Regions from separate parts of the Homo sapiens genome. Here all the other regions are linked to region 1. The links are contacts of gene promoters, found by promoter capture Hi-C in human tissues and cell types (Jung and others, 2019). All regions are on one chromosome and are shown on one strand. Each heading gives the region's core, a stretch centred on a gene start or on the middle of the fragment in contact. The rest is flanking DNA. Distances are from core to core; before and after follow the strand shown. Region 1 holds the start of DCAKD (dephospho-CoA kinase domain containing). Region 2 has its middle 11 kb from the start of FZD2. Region 3 holds the start of ADAM11 (ADAM metallopeptidase domain 11).

What was found. Contacts are between HindIII fragments. The study calls those that stand out against the background at their distance.
Region 2: a contact is called between a fragment that was not itself captured here and the fragment with the promoter of DCAKD in region 1, in 1 of the 25 tissues and cell types used here (dorsolateral prefrontal cortex).
Region 3: a contact is called between the fragment with the promoter of ADAM11 here and the fragment with the promoter of DCAKD in region 1, in 1 of the 25 tissues and cell types used here (heart right ventricle).

What each region holds. Positions count from the first base shown.
Region 1 is chr17:45,049,841-45,054,064 of GRCh38, forward strand. DCAKD (dephospho-CoA kinase domain containing) reads right to left here and starts at 1,792. Exons shown (of 5, transcript NM_001288655.2): 1 at 1,521-1,792. RefSeq lists a silencer at 1,433-1,932. The HindIII fragment of the contact is 12,750 bases long and covers 1-4,224 here.
Region 2 is chr17:44,566,745-44,570,968 of GRCh38, forward strand. No RefSeq gene overlaps it. Among named protein-coding and RNA genes, the nearest start is that of FZD2, 11 kb to the left of the region's middle. RefSeq lists a silencer at 424-624. The HindIII fragment of the contact is 4,266 bases long and covers 309-4,224 here.
Region 3 is chr17:44,756,651-44,760,874 of GRCh38, forward strand. It overlaps ADAM11 (ADAM metallopeptidase domain 11), which reads left to right and starts at 2,338. Exons shown (of 27, transcript NM_002390.6): 1 at 2,338-2,610; 2 at 3,072-3,247. The coding sequence starts at 2,550. RefSeq lists an enhancer at 1,979-2,530. The HindIII fragment of the contact is 11,776 bases long and covers 1-4,224 here.

The sequences.
Region 1 (4,224 bases), core at 542-3,041:
TCCTGAGTAGCTGGGATTGCAGGCACCCGCCACCACACCCAGCTAATTTTTTTGTATTTTTAGTAGAGATGGAGTTTCACCATGTTGGCCAGGCTGGTCTCAAACTCCTGACCTCAGGTGATCTGCCTGCCTCAGCCTCCCAAAATACTGGGATTACCAGGCGTGAGCCACCGCGCTCGGCCTCCCAGCAGGTAATTTTTTCTTTCTTTCTTTCTTTTGAGAAGGAGTCTCACTCTCTTGCCCAGGCTGGAGTGCAGTGGCACGATCTCGGCTCACTGCAACCTCAGCCTCCCGGGTTCAAGCGATTTTTCTGCCTCAGCCTCCCGAGTAGCTGGGACTACAGGCATGCACCACCATGTCCGGCTAATTTTTTTGCATTTTTAGTTGACACGGGGGTTTCACCATGTTGACCAGGCTGGTCTCGAACTCCTAACCTCGGGTGATCCACCCTCCTCAACCTACCAAAGCGCTGGGATTACAGGCGTGAGCCACCGTGCCCGGCCCAGAGGGTAATTTTCAAAACAAAGCTAAGTTCGTGGCTTGCCTGCCTTCAGCTATCAGCCCTCTTCTTCTCTCCTTAAGGTACAGGCACCAAGAGGGGCTCGGAGACCATTTAAACGTTATTTACCAAGGGGACAGATTCAGACCTTGGTGAAGACAGACAGAGGAGGATTTGGTGGGAATTTAGGGCCCTGCTGAGACAAAAACCACCCGAACCCGTCTGTCCACTTTCTATCCATCTACCAGATCTCTAGCATTTCACCCCTTTCCCCAGGCCTATGCCAGCACTGTGCCACACCAACTCAATCTTGATTTATTCAGGTAAAATGAGCACTCTCCCTCCTGCAAAAACAAACACGTTTAAGACATAAAACATATTCAAAGGCTTCCATTTCCTCACCGTTAGAATTGAGACTTAATGTCAAAGTTCACTTGGGTAGGTTGAATCATTTTCCCACAACTAAGGGAGAGTGAAAAATCTTTGAAAACTCTGTAAGCAAACACCTGAAATGCCAACGCCTCCTTTGCGGAGCTGGGGAAGGAAGAGACGGGTGGCCGGATGGCCTCCCTCACTAGTTGGTGGGCGTGAGATCCACGCCGCCCCAGTCCCGGGGGCCTTCACTAAAACCTTAACTGGCCTCCCAGGGGAGAGGGAAGCGGAGGAGAGGGGTCTGAAAATCGGAGATGATCACTCAGCTCAACAGTAAAGCACTTTATACCCACCCTATGGGACAGATACTGTAGCTTTATTCCCATTTTTCAGATGAGCAAACTTGGGATCGGAAAGATACCCCAAGGTCACACAACTGAAGTGGCAGAAGCTAGATTCAAGAATCAATCGGCCCGCAAAGTTCTAAAGGGCAGTGGCTTTGGTCTGATCCTGAGTTTGAATCCACAATCTCCAGCCCTTTCTAGCTGTAAACCTTCCTGCGCGTCCTCAGCCGTAAAACAGAGGAAATAACACGTTGCTTGGTAGGGTTGCTGTCAAGACAATGGGCCGTGGATATAAAAGCACTTGCCTTAGTGCTGGCCGCATACGACGCGCTCAATACATCGTAACTCAGGCTTTCAAAAGAGGCCCGTACGCCCCACTAGGCCGCGAAATTGGGTCGCCCGGGGCGGTGGCAGCCCCGCGTAGCAGCCGCGGCCAGGGCCCGCCCCCTCCCCGGCGCCCGGCTGGCTCTCACCGGCCCGCGTGGCGCGCTACGTACCCAGCGCCTCCGCCGTGGCCCAGGCCTCCGCCTCTAGCCCAATCTCCGCAGCGCTTACAGGCCGGCTCAGCGGGCGAGGCGGGACCTCGGGAGCGCGCGCCTGCAGACCGGACGTCCGGCCAGCAGGCGGGGCCGGGAGAGGTTGGACGGGCGGGGCCGGGAGAGGTTGGGTGGGCGGGCGGGGCCGGGAGAGGTTGGGCGGGCGGGCGGGCGGGGCCGGGAGAGGTTGGGCGGGCGGGCGGGCGGGGCCGGGAGAGGTTGGGCGGGCGGGCGGGCGGGGCCGGGAGAGGTTGGGCGGGCGGGCGGGCGGGGCCGGGAGAGGTTGGGCGGGCGGGCGGACGCGGGAGAGGTTGGGCGGGCGGGCGGACGCGGGAGAGGTTGGGCGGGCGGGCGGACGCGGGAGAGGTTGGGCGGGCGGGCGGACGCGGGAGAGGTTGGGCGGGCGGGCGGACGCGGGAGAGGTTGGGCGGGCGGGCGGACGCGGGAGAGGTTGGGCGGGCGGGCGGACGCGGGAGAGGTTGGGCGGGAGAGGTTGGGCGGGAGGGCGGCCGGACGGACGCGGGAGAGGCCGGCGGGGAGAGCTCGGCCCCGGAGCACGGCACAGAGGTCCCCCGCAACCCCCGACCCGGAGCCATAAATTTTCCTTTCCCCGGAGCCGGGAAGGAGAGGGAGAGAGAGGAGAGGGGCAAAACTGCAGGGTCCTAACTTCGGATATAAAGCTCGGCCACTCGCTACTTGTGCAGCCTTGGCAGAGGTGATCATGAGCACTTTCCACCTGCCAGGTCCTAAGAGCACTTTGTGGGATTATCTCAGCCCGCACAGTCCGCAGGGTGGATACTATCATCATCCCCATTTTACACAACAGGAAACTATGTTTAGCGGTTAATCCATTTGCCCTCTCATACAAAGTCATGTGATTGCAGAGCCCGCATCCTGTCCATACAAGCCTAGCAAGCCACTCAGCCTCTCATCCTGTCTCCTCTCAAAGTGGGGATAATCGCAGCCGTGCAGCGTTGTTGAAAGAATACATAAAAGCCGGGCACGGTGGCTCACACCTGTAATCTCAGCACTTTGGGAGGATCACTTGAGCCCAGGAGTTCGAGACCAGCCTAAACAAGAGTGAGACTAACCCCCGATCTCTACAAAAAAAAAAAACAAAAAACAAACTAGCCAGGCATGGTGACAGTGTGGTCTCATTTACTCGGGAGGCTGAGGCAGGAGGATGGCTTGAGCCCAGGAGGTCAAGGCTGCAGAGAGCCATGATGGTACCACTGCACTCCAGCCTGGGCAACAAAACGAGACCTTGCCTCAAAAAAAATAAAGCATCTAGGCCGGGCGCTGTGGCTCACGCCTGTAATCCCAGCACTTTGGGAGGCCAAGGCGGGTGGATCACCTGAGGTCAGGAGTTTGAGACCAGCCTGGCCAACATGGCAAAATCCCGTCTCTACTAAAAATACAAAATTAGCCGGGCGTGGTGGTGAATGCCTGTAATCCCAGCTACACGGGAGGCTGAGGCAGGAGGATTGCTTGAACCCGGGAGGTGGAGGTTGCAGTGAGCCCAAGATCCGGTCACTGCACTCCAGCCTGGGAGACTACAGCAAGACTCTGTCTCCAGTTAAAAAAAAAAAAAAAAAAAAAAAAAAACTAGTTATCTAGTTATGCCTCACATATAGCAGGAAGTTGTTTTTGTTTTTTTTTTGTTTGGTTTGTTTGTTTGTTTGTTGAGACAGAGTTTCGCTCTATTGCCCAGGCTGGGGTGCAGTGGCAGGATCTTGGCTCACTGCAGCCTCTGCCTCCCAGGTTCAAGCGATTCTCCTGCCACAGCTTCCCGAGTAGCTGGGACTAGAGGTGTGCGCCACCACATCCAGCTAATTTGTTTTGCTTTTGAGATGGAGTTTTGCTCTTGTTGCCCAGGCTGGAGTGCAGTGGCATGATCTCGGCTCACTGCAACCTCTACCTCCCGGGTTCAAGCGATTCTCCTGCCTCAGCCTCCCAAGTAGCTAGGATTACAGGCATGTACCACCACACTCGGCTAATTTTGTATTTTTAGTAGAGATGGGGTTTCACCACGTTGGCCGGGCTGGTCTGGAAATCCTGACCTAGGTGATCCACCCACCTCGGCCTCCCAAAGTGCTAGGATTACAGGCGTCAGCCACCATGCCCAGCACATCTGGCTAATTTTTGTATTTCTAGTAGAGATGGGGTTTGGCATGTTAGCCAGGCTGGTCTCAAACTCCTGACCTCAGGTGATCCACCCACCTCGGCCTCCCAAAGTGCTGGGATTATAGGCATGAGCCACGGTGCCTCACCAGCAGGAAGTTTTTAATTAACACCTACCCTGTCTCCCTTCCCTTTCCTTAAACTGTATCTCTATTCTCTACTTCCTTTAAGGTAGGAATCTTGCCTATCTACTACTACAATACCCAGTGCCCTGCACAGTAGGGATTCAGTATATTGAGGAATTAAGTAATTTAACATCTTTCTCAGATCACCTGAGTCCCTGAAAGCTTTC
Region 2 (4,224 bases), core at 1,192-3,691, 480 kb before region 1:
CAAGATCGCACCACCGCACTCCAGCCTGGGTGATAGAATGAGACTCCGTCTCAAAAAAAAAAAAAAAAAAACAAACAAAGAAAAGAAAAAGAAAAATGAGGCCCAGAGGCCAGAGAGACACTGCCTGAAGCTCACAGGTAATTGCAGAATTGGAGCTCAAACCCAGCTTTTAGTCCTTATGCTTTTTTTTAGACTAATTTTTTTAGAGGAAGGTACAAGAGTTCCCATATACCCCTGTCCCTACACATACATAACCTACCTTCCCCATTATCAACATCCCTCACCAGAGGAGTACTTTTTTTTTTTTTTTTTTTTTTGAGATGGAGTCTCGCTCTGTCGCCCAGGCTAGAGTGCAGTGGCACATCTTAGCTCACTGCAACCTCTGCCTCCCTGGTTCAAACGATTCTCCTGCCTCAGCCTCCCAAGTAGCTGGGATTACAGGCATCCACTACCACGCCTAGCTAATTTTTGTATTTTTAGTAGAGATAGGGTTTTACCATATTGGCCAGGGTGGTCACGAACTCCTGACCTCAGATGATCCGTTTGTCTCAGCCTCCCAAAGTGCTGAGATTACAGGCATGAGCTACTACATCCGGCCACCAAAGGAGTACATTTGTTACAATTGATAAACCTACACTGACACATCATTATCAATCAAAGTCCACAGTTTACATTAAGGTTCACTGTTGGTTTACTTTCTTGTTTGTTTGTTTTTGAGACAGGGTCTCTGTCACCCAGGCTACAGTGCAGTGGTACGATCTCGACTCACTGCAGCCTTGACCTCCTGGGCTCAAGGGATCCTCCCACCTCAGCCCCCCAAGTGGCTAGGACTACAGGTGTGTGCCACCACAGCTGACTAATTTTTGTGTGTGTGTGTGTGGTTTTTTTGTTTTGTTTTGGTTTGGTTTTTTTAGTAGAGACAGGGTTTTGCCATATTGCCCAGGCTGGTTTTGAACTCCTGAGCTCGAGTGATCCGCCTGCCTTGGCCTCCCAGAGTGCTAGGATTACAGGTGTGAGCCACCGTGCCTGGACTTGTGTTGTACTTTCTATAATGTATAATGACATATATACAACATTAAAGTATCACACAGACTATTTTCGCTGACCTAAATATCCTCTATGCTCTACCTATTCAACCCTCCCAGCCCCACCAACCCCTAGCAACCACTGATCTTTTTACTGTCTCCACAGTTTTGCCTTTTCTAGAATATCATAGAGTTGGAATCATACTATATGTAGCCTTTTCAGATTGGCTTCTTTGACTTAGTAATATGCATTTCAGGTTCCTCCACGTGTTTTTGAGAGGTGACAGCCTGCTGGCAGCCCTCGCTCACTCTCGGCGCCTCCTCTGCCTGGGCTCCCACTTTGGCGGCACGTGAGGAGCCCTTCAGCCCACCACTGCACTGTGGGAGCCCCTTCCTGGGCTGCCCAAGGCTGGAGCTGGCTCCCTCAGCTTGCGGGGAGGTGTGGAGGGAGAGGCGCGGGCAGGAACTGGGGCTGCACGGGGCGCTTGGGGGCCAGCGCGAGTTCTGGGTGGGCGTGGGCTCGGCGGGCCCCGCACTCGTAGCGGCCAGCCAGCCCGCAAGCCCCGGGCAGTGAGGGGCTTAGCACCTGGGCCAGTAGCTGCTGTGCTGGATTTCTCGCCAGGCCTTAGCTGCCTCCCTGCTGGGCAGGGCTCGGGACCTGCAGCCCACTATGCCTGAGCCTCCACCCCTTCCTCTCCCCCACGCCGTGGGCTCCTGCACGGCCCGAGCCTCCCGGAGAGCGCTGCCCCCTGCTCTAGGGCGCCCAGTCCCATCGATCACCCAAGGGCTGAGGAGTGTGGGTTCACAGCGCGGGACCCGCAGGCAGCTCCACCTGTGGCCCCGATGCGGGATCCACTGGGTGAAGCCAGCTGGGCTCCTGAGTCTAGTGGGGACTTGGGGAGCTTTTATGTCTAGCTGGGGGATTGTGGATACACCAATCAGCACTCTGTATCTAGCTCAAGGTTTGTAAACACACCAATCAGCACGCTGTGTCTAGCTCAGGGTTTGTGAATGCAGCAATGGACACTCTGTGTCTAGCTAATCTAGTGGGGACGTGGAGAACTTTTGTGTCTAGCTCAGGGATTGTAAACGCACCAATCAGCACCCTGTCAAAATGGACCAATCAGCTCTCTGTAAAACAGACCAATCGGCGCTCTGTAAAATGGACCAATCAGCAGGATGTGGGTGGGGCCAGATAGGAGAATAAAAGCAGACTGCCCCGACTCAGCAGTGCAAGCAGACTGCCCCGACTCAGCAGTGGCAATGTACTCGGGTCCTATTTCTCCGGGGGGGGGGGGGGGGGGGGGGTTGGGGGGTGGAGAGAGGAAGCTTTATTCTTTCACTTTTTGGAATAAATTTTGTTGCTGTTTGTTCTTTGGATCTACACTACTTTTATGAGTTGTAACACTCACCGGGAAGGTCTGCAGCTTTGCTCCTGAAGCCAGCGAGACCACGAACCCACCGGGAGGAACGAACAACTCCAGATGCGTCGACTTAAGAGCTGTAACACTCACTGCGAAAGTCTGCAGCTTTACTCCTGAGCTAGTGAGACCACGAACCCACCAGGAGGAAGAAACTCTGAACACATCCGAACGTCAGAAAGAATAAACTCTGGACACGCCGCCTTTAAGAACTGTAACACTTACCGCGAGGGTCTGCGGCTTCATTCTTGAAGTCAGTGAGACCAAGAACCCACCAATTCTGGACACATTTTCGTGGTTTGATAGCACGTTTCCTTTTAGCACTGAATAATGTCTGGCTATTCCACAGTTTTTCAAAGCAGATTAATTATGCCCTGGCTACCAACTTGCTTGAGTTGGGTGGAACAGAAAAACCCCCCCAATCAAATAAGCTACACGCACCAGATGTATTACTTACAGATAGGCAGCAAGGGACAGCGTAGCCTAGGACTCAGCCAGTCCCCCGAGGCTCACAAAAGCTGCCTGGGGTGAATGGAGTCTTGTCAGTGTGTATGTCTTGCTTACCTCACTAGCAAACTGCCCTGGGTTTTGTATCCTAGGGACAACAGGACTTGGTGGGCTAAAATGTTGAAGGACGTCCTATTTCTTTCTTGTTTTCTTTTTTTTTAAAGGATATTCTATTTCTAGGAGGGCCTGGAATAGAGCTCAGGCTGTGCTGTCCAGTCCCTCGTTATCCCAGGATGCTGCATTCCCAGAACAATCTACGGTTATTCTTGAATACTATAAGTGAGAAAGCGGAGAACTGGGTGGCCCAAGGCCACCCGGAGAACTGTCTGGTAAGTTTATTCACCTATCGAAGGGCATCTTCGTTGCTTCTAAGCTTTGGTAATTATAAAGCTGCTGTAAACATCCATGTACAGGTTTTTATGTAGACATAATTTTTTTTTTTTTTGAGACAAAGTCTCGCTCTCTTTCCCCAGGCTGGAGTGCAGTGGCATGATCTAGGTTCACTGCAACTTCCGCCTCTCGGGTTCAAGCGATTGTCCTGCCTCAGCCTCCTGGGTAGCTGGGATTACAGGTGCCTGCCACCACACCCAGCTAATTTTTGTATTTTTAGTAGAGACGGCATTTTACCATGTTGGACAGGCTGGTCTTGAACTCCTGACCTCAGGTGATCCGCCCATCTCGCCTCCCAAAGTGCTGGGATTACAGGCGTGAGCCACCGTGCCCGGCCACCTAGACGTAAATTTTTAACACGTGGGTAAATACCAAGGTGCTTGATTGCTGGATTGTATGGTAAAAGTATGTTTAGTGGTGTAAGAAACTGCCAAACTATCTTCCAAAGTGGTTGTACCGTGTTACATTCCCACCAGCAGTGAATGAGGGTTTCTGTTATTCCACATCCTCCACGGCATTTGGTATTGTCAGTATTCCAGATTTGGGCCATTCCAATAGATACGTAGTAGTATTTCATTGTTTGAATTTGCATTTTCCCGATGACATAGGATATAGAGGTCTTTTCATATGCTTACCTTCCATCTGTATGTCTTTGGTGAGATGTGTGTTAGGGTCTTTGGTCCTTTTTTTTTTTTTTTTTTTGAGGCACCTGCCGCCACCACGCCTGGTTATTTTTTTTTTGTATTTTTAGTAGAGATGGGGTTTCGCCGTGTTAGCCAGGATGGTCTCAATCTTCTGACCTCAGGATCCGCCCGCCTTGGCCTCCCAAAGTGCTTACAGGCGTGAGCCACTGCGCCCGGCCTGGTCCATTTTTTAATTGG
Region 3 (4,224 bases), core at 1,088-3,587, 290 kb before region 1:
GGTGCGGTGGCTCACGCCTGTAATCTCAGCACTTTGGGAGGCCGAGGCGGGTGGATCACGAGGCCAGGAGATCGAGACCATGCTGGCTAACATGTGAAACCCCGTCGCTACTAAAAATACAAAAAAAAAAAAAAAATAGCTGGGCGTGGTGGCGAGCACCTGTAGTCCCAACTATTCAGGAGGCTGAGGCAGGAGAATGGCGTGAACCCGGGAGGCGGAGCTTGCAGTGAGCCGAGATCGTGCCACTGCACTCCAGCCTGGGCGACAGAGCCAGACTCTGTCTCAAAAAAAAAAAAAAAAAAAAAGTAAGTTCTAGCCAGATCTGCTGGGAGCCGGGGAACCCAGGAATATAAGTGGCTATGGGGGCCAGGGAGCCATATGACCGAGTCTCCACTGGAACTAGCCCAGGGTGCCACCAGGGAGAGTCACTCTTAGGGCTCATCAGGTCTCCCCAACAGGAAGTCTAGGGTCCCAGGGCCACCGATGTGGTAGGAACATGCCTCTGGTGAAGAGGCCTGGACCACAGATTGGGCTTGCTCTGTGGTCTTGAACATGTTGGAGGACCCAGACTCTCCCAGCCCCGGGCTCGCACTGTGAAATGACAAACCTCACCCAGCCTACTGGGGGGCACTCCTGATCGGGACTTGCTGATGTGGCCCTGGGACATGGGCAGGCTGGAGCAGGACAGCCACCTTCGTGTCTGGGGTGTGTGGTGAGGGTGCATGGGACCAGATATACCAGTCCCCTCTGGTCCCAAATGGAGGGCAGAGATGGAAGTAGGACTAGGGGTGGCTAAGAGGAGTGGGGCCATGGAGTATGGGATGTGCCTTTCACCAGCTGTGTGACTTTGAGAAGCTCACATAACCTCTCAGAGCCTCAGTTTCCCCATCTGTAAAATGGGGAGCACAATCTCTCCCTCTGGGCTCATGATGAGTTTCCAGGAATACCACCTAGTAGGCCCTCATTCCCAGGAGCCTCCTCATGCCTACATCTTGGAGGAGGTTCTCAAGATGTCTCCAGAGCGAAGGAAGAATTGGCTCAGCCTTACTGAGCATCTGGGCCTGGCATGGCAGGTGGTTGGGGGTGGGGGGAGTCACTTGGTTCCCTACATTGATGTCAGCGCCTCCTGGGAAATCGCCTTCTCACCTCTCCTGGGCCTAAAATAGAGCGGGGGGTGGGGGTGTCACAAGCTAGAGGCAGTTCCCTCATCCCCAGCAGAGGCCCTGGGTCCTTGCGGAAGCAGAGGACCCAGGAAGGGGTTTCCTGCCTCCAATCTTGTTCTTCAGCAACCTGTGGTCCCCTAGCATGGGTACCAAAAAGGTCAGGGTGGGGACTCAGCGGCCCACCCACCATGCCCTACCACACCCCACACCATCTCAGGTATCTGGCCTTCAGCACCCCTAGCAGAAGTCTGAGGTCCCAGCCCTGGTATTGGGACCCAACATCCCCAGGAGCTGGGTGGAGGGCACAGCTGGGAATGTAGGTTGGGAGGTCAAGTATTTTGCAGACAGGGCAGCCTAGTCTGACCAGAGAGGGAATGCTGGGGGGCTCCAGAGGTGTCTTCTGCTCCTAAGGATTGGGACTAGCAAGGGAGGGGGAGCCATGGGGCATGCTAGCAGCATATAAGTGACCTGGCTAGTTTATATTTTATCTAGGAGGAAGGACAGGACGCCTGTGAGAGACTCAGGAACCCAGACGGACATGCCAGCCCTTCCTGATGGTTGGAGTGACAGCGATCCCTGAAGCCCTCCTGGAGGCCGGGGCATCTTTGGCGGGGAGAAGGAGCCGATGGGAAGGGGTCTGTACCGCGGGCGTGAGAGGACTCCGCAGTGACACGACCCGTAGCGAAGGTGCAAGAAATCCCAGAGGCGTAGAGCCCGGCGTTCGCCAAGAGCCTTTGCCCACCCCAACCCCAGCTTCCACAGCCTGGGGTCAAGCGGGGCGCTCCAAGCTGGGGCTGGGGCAGCCTCTCTGGGGTACCACGACAGAGGGGCGAACGTGGGCGCCGCAGCCACGCCCCTGCCCCCGGGCCCCAGACAGGCAGTCGCCGGGTCGACCCCGGGGGTACCCCGTCCCCTGCTTCCCTCCCCTACAAATCTACGAGTCCTCGGAGATGCTCAGGCAGAGGTGGCCGAGGAGAGGCCGCGGGATAAGTACGCGGAGCGCCACCGCCCCGCACCTGCCGAGGAGACTTCGAGGTGCGAGGAGGGACCCCGGGGCGGCGCCTCTTTTGTCCTGCCGCGGCGGCGGCCCGGGCCCTGCGGGGCTGGGGGGGCCGGGGGGCGGCGGGAGAGCGGAGGGCGGGCCCTGGGCTCACGTGCTCGCTGCTCAGCTCTTAACCCGGCCCCGCCGCCCCGCCGGGATGGCCGCGGCCGGAGCGCGCTGAGCCCCGGCGCCGTCCCTGCCGCCCCCACCTCTCCGCGACCCCCGCCCGGCCCCGCGCCCCCGCCCCGGCTCCGCAGCTGGCGCCTCCCCACCCCCGTCCCTGCTCCCGCCCTCCCCGCGCCGCTGGCAGCCGCAGCCCCCGGACCGGGAGGAATGAGCGAGCCATGAGGCTGCTGCGGCGCTGGGCGTTCGCGGCTCTGCTGCTGTCGCTGCTCCCCACGCCCGGTGAGTGACCCCCGCCCGGCCCCGGCGCCCCCTCCCTGCCCCCGCCCCGGGATGTGCGGCGCTTGCTGCTGCAGCCACCTTTTCCTGCAGTGCTCGGGGTGACAGCCGGTCCGGAGCGCGGGAGGGTAGGGGAGCGGGAGAGGAGGGAAGGTGCGTCCACCCACCTGTCCCCAGCTGGCCGGGCCCACCGCGTCCCTGCCCCTGCCGCCGACCGGCCAGCTCTGCAGGTCTCTGCGGGTTTGGGCGGATGGGGGGGCAGTCGTGACGGTTGGGCGGGAGTGAAGCTCCTGGCCCCCTCCCCGCGGGCTCTTGCCTCTGCAGGGCAGCCAGATCCTCCCACCCGGATCGCCCTAGGGCTCCAGGGGCCACACCAGAGTGGGGGATGAGGCATGCCCACCCCATTCCCAAGTCTTCTGCCCCAGGGTGGGCAGCTGCCTGCAGCCATGGCCTTGTTTCCCCAGGTCTTGGGACCCAAGGTCCTGCTGGAGCTCTGCGATGGGGGGGCTTACCCCAGCTGGGAGGCCCAGGAGCCCCTGAGGTCACGGAACCCAGCCGTCTGGTTAGGGAGAGCTCCGGGGGAGAGGTCCGAAAGCAGCAGCTGGACACAAGGGTCCGCCAGGAGCCACCAGGGGGCCCGGTGAGTGGGGCTGGGTGGTGAGGCCAGGGGCTGAAGCAGGCCTCAGAGCCCCAGGAAGCCCACGGGGTAACCAGGGTTGGAGTCCCCCTCAGCAGCTGCCCCGCAGGGTCCCCTTCTGTACAGTGGGCTATCCGGTGGGTGCTGGAGCCCACTGGTGGGGAGCACCAGGCCTGCCCAGCCCCAGGGCCCCCTTCCATTATTGTAGGGTCCCCTGCCCTCAGTGTACAGGGACCACTAATGCCTAGGTCTCAGGTCTGCTTTGGGTCAGCCTTCCAATGGCCCCCTGCTCTGCTCTGGCCAAAGCTAGTTGTTCTGTTCAAAACAGGGCTTGGATGGGGCAAGTTGGGGGCAGGGAGAGGCAGCCCAGATTCCAGTCAGGGATTAGGGCTCTCAGGTTCTCACCACAGCCACCTTAGTGGGCTTTCTTGGAACAACTTAGTGCTTGCTCCTGCCTCAGTTTCCACACAGTGCCCAGATAGGCTTGTTGTTCTTCCTGTCCTGGCTGAAGGTGGGGCCTTGGAAAATAACTTGAGGCCCCAAGCCAGCTCTACCTGCCTGCCCACTGTCCCTTTCAGCTGCCAGGCCCCTCCTGCCTCCCAGAGGAAGGTTAGGCATGAAGGAGATTAATTGCAATTAATAATTAATTAATATCATGTGAATAATAATCACCCAGATGGAATATTCATTCAGCACACCCCAGCGCTCCAAGAGCTGGAGCTGAAAGTGAGCCAGGCCAACAGGGCAGCAGAGGGCAGGTTGGCTGGCAAAGGCCCGGCACAAACAGGAGGTATAGGGGGGAGACCCAGAAGAGGGGTACAACTGAGGCCTGGGAAGTTTTGGCAGCGGGGAGTGGTGGGAGGTAAATTGGGCTGGGCAGAGGGAGGAAGGAGGGAAACGGAGGCTAACATTACGGACATCTGTCAGACTGGCATCTGGCCCTGCCTAATGTACTTGGTTAAAAGCCCTTAAGGGAGGGG